Linked DNA regions of Homo sapiens: region 1 is linked to region 2. Evidence: promoter capture Hi-C in 16 types of primary human blood cells and fetal thymus (Javierre and others, 2016). All regions are on one chromosome and are shown on one strand. Each heading gives the region's core, a stretch centred on a gene start or on the middle of the fragment in contact. The rest is flanking DNA. Distances are from core to core; before and after follow the strand shown. Region 1 overlaps FRYL (FRY like transcription coactivator). Region 2 holds the start of OCIAD2 (OCIA domain containing 2).

The links. Contacts are between HindIII fragments. The CHiCAGO score rates a contact against its expected background, and 5 or more counts as called.
Region 1: a contact is called between a fragment that was not itself captured here and the fragment with the promoter of OCIAD2 in region 2, in 1 of 17 cell types (endothelial precursors). The highest score is 6.2, in endothelial precursors.

Annotation. Positions count from the first base shown.
Region 1 is chr4:48,696,453-48,700,260 of GRCh38, forward strand. All of the region lies in intron 2 of FRYL (FRY like transcription coactivator), which reads right to left. Among named protein-coding and RNA genes, the nearest start is that of FRYL, 82 kb to the right of the region's middle. The HindIII fragment of the contact is 943 bases long and covers 1,331-2,273 here.
Region 2 is chr4:48,904,704-48,908,041 of GRCh38, forward strand. OCIAD2 (OCIA domain containing 2) reads right to left here and starts at 2,071. Exons shown (of 7, transcript NM_001014446.3): 1 at 1,955-2,071. RefSeq lists a silencer at 1,749-2,008 and an enhancer at 2,299-2,378. The HindIII fragment of the contact is 6,070 bases long and covers 336-3,338 here.

The DNA of each region.
Region 1 (3,808 bases), core at 552-3,051, 210 kb before region 2:
CACTCATAAGTGGGAGTTAAACAACGAGAACACGTGGACACTGGAAGGGGAACATCACACACTGGGGCCAGTCAGCAGGTGGGGGGCAAGGAGAGGGAGAACACTAGGACAAATAGCTAATGCATGTGGGGCTTAAAACCTAAATGATGGGGGGATAGGTGCAGGACACCATTATGGCACACGTATACCTATACAACAAACCTACACGTTCTGCACTTGTATCCCGGAACTTAAAGTATAATAAAATATATATATACATAATCAAATTAAATTACTAACTTTTAGTTTCAATGGTATTATTTTTCTCCTGCCTGCTTAATGATACTATTATTAAGCAAGAAAATAAGAAAAAAAAAACATAAGCCCAGTATAAAAGAAAAATAACGATAAGAGATCTATCTATCTATCTATCTATCTATCTATCTATCTATCTATCTATCTATCACTTTCACAAGTCAACCATGATCAACAGCACTCTTAAATCCATCAGGTTTTGGCTCAAACAATCTCTGCTTTTGTCTTAAAATGAATAATTTTTCTCCAAAAAAAGTCAATTACAAGGTTTTTTCCTATATGCATCAAATTTCAATAAACTATTATGGTGTAACTGAAGAAGAAGAATAAAGGAAGCTACATCGAAGACTTGGAATTTTAAACCACAATAAAACCTTGTACACTAAGGATAATAAGGTCAATTCCTATATTTTTATATACTATAAAATACCATATGATACAGTAAAAGACATTTCTTATAACAGCCTGAAAATTATGACTCTTACTTTCTTTCCATTTTTACCTAAATTTTACCTAAAATTTCCATTCTTTTGAGGTTTTGACTTATTTGGAAAAAATCTAGAATTTTACCAAAATTAATATAATTTCAGATTTGTAAACAAGGGAAATGTTTACAAACTTTTTTTACTTCAAAAAATAATGTATTTTTACAGGTGCCAATTTTAAATCTCCAGCTCTAGTTTACATTTCTCACCTTTCTTGGATTTCTCAATGTTGATTATAAACTAACTAAAATGAAGCATACTTCTATTTTTATTTTTTGGGATGGAGTCTCACTCTGTCCCCCAGGCTGCGGTGTCTCAGCTTACTGCAACCTCTGCCTCCTGGGTTCAAGCAATTCTCCTGCCTCAGTCTCCTGAGTAGCTGGGATTACAGGTGCACGCCACCACACCCGACTAATTTTGTATTTTTAGTAGAGATGGGGTTTCACTATGCTGGTCACGCTGGTCTTAAACTCCTGACCTCAGGTGATCCACCCGCATGGGCCTCGCATGAGCCACCATGTCTGGCCCTAAAATGAAGCATACTTTTAAAAAGCTTCATAGAGAAGTACTTAAAGAAAAAAATGAAATAGAGAATTTGCATTGGCAAAGAAGAAATAAGAATGGTAATGATGAGGATAGTACAGAATGGGAATAGCATCTCTGGAGACTTTTCATTAAAGACCTGTTAGTGATCAAGTTGAAGGATACAATTGAACCAATTGATGTTGAGGCATTTCCACAGGCACAGGGAGACCTGCATTTAACATTTACTGGGGATCAACCTAAGCTCCAGGAATCTATACTCAGTGGCACTTACACACACAGCTGCTACCATCAAGGAGTTTACAGACAAGCTGGAAAGGAGACATGGGCAGTAGCATGTTTCAAGTGCTTTGAGAGAAGTTACCTAAATATGTTCAAGCTGCAACCAGGTACAAAGGAGACAGTCATCAACCTGAGTGGAGAAGGGAACAGGAAAGACTTCACTGAAGAAGTGGTGCTCACAGCTCCTGTTACCAGAAGACTTACTATAGCCACAATCTGTAACTACGCGAATGGGTTCTTGCCTCTCTTTGAGAAGCTAGCTAACTGATGACTTTTAAAAAGCTACATAAGTAACATATTCAGGTGTTAATAAACAAGATGTTTTTCCTGTAAGCCTCCCTGCCACAATTTCTCAATGTGACGTGATGGGCTCCAAAGCTGGATGCTATCACACACCCTCTGAGTTACACAACAGCTCCTGGCTCTGTCCCAAAAGTGGTTATCTTGGTATTGCCTCCTCCCCATGTTTGTGAAAGAAAATACTGTGCTGGGTGAGATTTACACTGATTGACAGTTCCTCTCGCTCTAGAAATGTATAAAGCATAATAAGCAGTTTATTCAGATCAACATCCTCTGTAGAGAAAATAACACATTTCCAAGTTAGTAACAAAACAACATTCCAAATTAGTTTGGTCACTATGGATGACCATATAGAACATGCCACCACAAAGCTTAATCCTTCACATTCCAGTACACATCCTGTAACTCTGAAAAAACATGCATATAAGAGTCAGTAGGCACCACCCCCACCCCAACCCCCACAAATAGGCTTTATTCTCCACAGTGGTTAAGTCAGTCTAAACAAGTAACAAATATAGGAGGGTAGAATTCAGAATTGGTTCACTGCACTCTAACAAATGGTGCCCTAGAAATCCAAGTTAATTAAATACCCATAACAACAGCAGCAACGACTAATTACCGAGAGCCTACTATGTGTGACCATCTAAGATGCTTCACATATGTTACTTCATTTTAACCCAAACCAGCCCATAATTTCAGTAAATGTTCAACTTTACAAATGTGGAAACTGACAAAGCTAATAAATGAACTGAAAAGTACTGTACCTCTGGATTATATTTTAAAGTATAAGCTGTTATATGGAGTTGAGATAAAATTCTCAAATTAAAATGCAATTATTTTCAATGGCTGTTTGGAAGATAAAATGCAATTATGATTTCAATATGTCCTTATATTGATTCTGAACCTCAGAACAGAAAAAGCTAGAGAACTCTCAAAAAGGATAACTAAACATAATTAACACATCATTTGCTTTAAATATTTCATGAAAACATAAGAGTTTGCCCTATCAAAAGTAAAAAATAGTGGGGGATGGGAAAGAGATCATACTGTGACCAACAAATCACAGAGATGCTTATTTGAAGACTAAATTCAATCCTCATCTGTTAATATCTTACTATTTAAAGTTCAATGAACAACTTCATAAAGGAAAGAGATTGTCCTTTGTTTCAGCCAAGATTTTTAAATCTTTAATCTAAAATACATGCTTCTCAAAGATGGATGCTAACAATTTAAACAAGGTGCTAATTCAATCAGTTGCACAATTCTGGCTCAGCAGTTTCTCTATTACAGGGAAAATGTGACAAAGTAAACAAGCCCTACCTGTGGTTTAACATGAAAATTCCCTCCACTCCACATAAATCGCCCTTCTTCTTCTGGGTCCCTACATGCCTCTTTTCCTTTTTCCTCCTCTATTTTGAGAGAATATTTGGCCCCTGGATCAGTTTACTGGTGTTCAGGGTCATCTGAATTGTATCTTTTGAATATTGTCTACAGATCCAGTTCCCAATCTAGATTTGCTACTACTCTTAAGAATTTTAACATACATTTAAATCATATTAAGCTAGATATTAATGTTAACTAGAATATTTATTAGAGTAAAGCAAAAAGACAAAAAAAATTTAAGTGCTCTAAAAACCTAACACCAGGTATAGTATAATAAAGGAACAGAGTCCGACTGCCTATCGAGCACTGCACTAGGCAGTGAGAGACACGAATGATGAATAAGACACCACCTACCACCTTAAGGAATTTGTGGTGTGGTGTGACTCACCCAGCTAGCTCTATACTGTCTCAGAAGGAGATTGTGGTAGAAAGTTCTAATACGGTACAAATGCAGTTATTACAGAAAAACAAAAGATTTTTTTTTAATATATCAGGCTTCTGAATTAATGCCATGATTATAT
Region 2 (3,338 bases), core at 821-3,320:
ATGTGTTTTTCCTTTTGTCATTAGTCCATCTGCAAACTCAACTTCCAGTGCTCCTCTTCCACCAGCACACATACATGCACTCACTAATGGGGACAGATCAGATTTAGAATAGAGTGGAAATACCACACTGTGCACTGAGTGTCGATTATGTGCCAGGCCAGGGGATATGAAGAAGGATAAGACAAGATCACCGCTGTGAAGGAATTCACAGTCCAAAAGGGGAGATAGACAAGTCAACAGTTACACAACATGAAAAGTATGCATGGGATGCTAAGGAAGAAAAGAAAGCAGGGTCCATTCCATCTAGTCATGTCACAAAGGAACTAGGACTCCTAAGCTTTCAGGAGGATCTGTGGAGGGTAGATGGACTCTGGGGCAGGAGGACCAGGTTGGAAGGTGGTACACTAGTCCAGACAAGGAGTTACAGGGACGTGAACAAAGACCCTGGTGGGAATTTAGCATCTTTGATAGAGATGCTAAATTTGGGTTTGGAAATGTTGGATTTGGGTGCCTGTGGGGGCAAACAGTGGAATTAGCCACTGTTAATATTTGACGATTTGGGTCTAGAGTTCCAGAACAGGGGTAGGCTAGAGAGATGAAGTTGGGAGCTGCCATCATAGAGATGAGAGTTAAAGCAGGGAACTTTAATAAATGTGTCTAAAAACAGTACTGGAGAATATGAACACTGAGCCCAAGGGAATATCGAAAAGAGAAGAAAGATTAAAAAAAAAAAAGCAGGCCAAGGAAATGACTGAGAAGGAATAGCTGATACAGAGGGGAGGGAATTTCTGAAGGAGGGAGTGAATCATCAACACCATCACATGGCTTAGAAAAGTGGACCCTGGATTTGGCAATGATGGACATAATCCAGGTGGACTTTGAGCCTCCTCCTGCCCCCAGTGGCCACTGCATTCTGCAGCCCTGAACTCTACCTCTACCTCTGCTTTTCTTCTGCAAAATGAACCTCTTATATACAATTCTGTTTCCTACATCAGTTACTAAACTTTGAGGCATTTGAGCCAAGGGGACCCGTACTCGCACCAAGTTTCATCACAGGTGTCTAATGTGATTACAGGGGCAGCACGGTGCCCTGCACGGGAAAGTACTGGGGTCAGAGAGACCAGAGTTCAAATCGTGACTCTTTACCCCTGCGATCCCTTTGGTGCAAATGACTTAATCCGTCTCTGCCTCAGCTTTCTCCACTGTTAATTGGGCATAATGGACACAACAATGGTGAGGGGCTCTTGCAGGAATGAAGACTAGGATGAGGATGAGGATGAGGGATACGTCCATAAAGCCCCTGCACACCTTCCATTTCCTGAGCACTCCCAGGAAGTCTTTGCTGACCACGCCAAATTAGATTATCTTTGCTTAGCCATTAGGCCGCTGCCCTATATTGGGAGGCAAATATACCTCTCAGCTTCGGTGGCCAGGTCCCCTGGCACCCACTTAGTCCTCAGTCTGCACCTAAAAGCAAGCCTTCCGAGGGTCTTGCCTTGCAGGTGTAGCTCCCACCCCCCACGCTGGGGTGGTCCGGGGACCCTCTGTTTCCTCAGTGGTGGGGAAGGGACCCGTGGGTTCGTGGGTGCTGACCGACGAATGTGCGGAGGAGGGCGCGCCCCAGCATGGGGGGCGGGGGTGCTTCTTAGGATGGCTTGGAGGGGGGCGCCTGCAGGGCTGGACGGCGGACGGGGGACACTGCACTTTCTGATGCGGTCGGGGAAGCCGGGAGTCAGCCTACTGGAGTCCGCTGCCATCCCTGGCCAGAAGCAGCCAGCGCCACCCCAAGCTCCCCAGCCCCTCGCCCGTGCCGGGGCCGCCGGGGTCCGAGTTAGGGGAGAGTGGGGGGCGGCCACCGCTGCACCGCGCGGCCTTCGAAGGACTGCCCTGCGGCGCCGCGTTCCCCCGAGGCCACCCCCTCCCGCCGTCAACACTCCCCGGGGCGGGGGCTCACCTGTGTGGTCTGGGTCGCCTCCGAGGCCGAGTCCCTCGTTGCCAAGCCCAGCAGGCCTCGCTCCCCCGTGACTGCACCGCCGGCCCGCTCCAGCTTCCCGAGTACCCCACCTGTCTCCCCGGCTTCCTTCCGGCCCTTTGTGTTTTCTTCTCTTGCTCCGCCCCCTCGCCTGCCCGCTAAGCACTTAAGCTGGTGAAGTCACCCTACTGCCACCTGGCAGTCACTTTCGCTGTTGGTGGCAACCCAGGCTGGAACCCAGCTCTTGCCGGAACCCCTGCCCCATCCTTGAGGCTTGTCCCGACACCGAGTAGGTTCTAGTTCCTTTGTGCCTTCCAAATGACTCCCTTCCTCCAGCAATCACAGCCGCAACAGCCATGTATTGCGCCCCCGCCCTAGGCCAGGCGTGGGCATCACCTTTGCACTCCTTTCTGCAGCCGTGTGTGGTGCCCACTGTGACCTGCACTTCACAGACGGGTCATCTGAGTTGTGCAGGCCACTAAGGGAGCCTGGAGTCAACCCCAGGCCTGCTTGGCTCCCAGGCCTTCTCTTTCCATTGCTCTTTGTCGGTCCCCTGCTGCCTCCTGTCCCTCCCCAACTCTGACTTGTGGAGGGAAGCCTTTGACATGTGGGGGTACCTTTAATACCGATATCACTTGTTACCGGAGAGGGGTCCCGATCCAGACCCCAAGCGAGGGTTCTTGGACTTCTCGCAAGAAAGAATTCGGGGTGAGTCCGTAGAGTGAGAGCAAGTTTATTAAGGAAGTATAGAAAACAGGCCGGGTGCGGTGGCTCACGCCCATAATCCCAACACTTTGGGAGGCAAAGGCAGGCAGATCACTTGAGCTCAGGAGTTCAGACCAGCCTGGCCAACATGGTGAAACACTCTCTCTACTAAAAATACGAAAAGTTAGCCAGGCATGGTGCTCTATGCCTGTAATCCCAGCTACTCGGGAGGCTGAGGCAGGAGAATCGCTTGAACTCCGGAGGCAGAGGTTGCAGTGAGCCGAGATTGCGCCACTGCACTCCAGCTTGGGCGACAGAGCCAGACTCTGTCTCAAAAAAAAAAAAAACAAAAAAAAAACAAAAAACAAGAAGAACAACAACAAAAAAGAATGGCTACTCCACTGGCAGAGCAGCTGTGTGGGCTGCTTAGCTAATTATACTGGTAGTTATTTCTTGATTCTATGCTAAACAAGGGGTGGATTATTCATGAATTTTCCAGGAAAAGGGTGGGCAATTCCCGGAACTGAGGGTTCCTTCACTTTTTAGACCATATAGGGTAACTTTCTGACGTTGCCATGGCACTTGTAAACTGTCATGGCCCTGGTGGGAGGGTCTTTTATCAGGCTAATGCATTAAAATTAGCATTTAATGAGTAATGAGG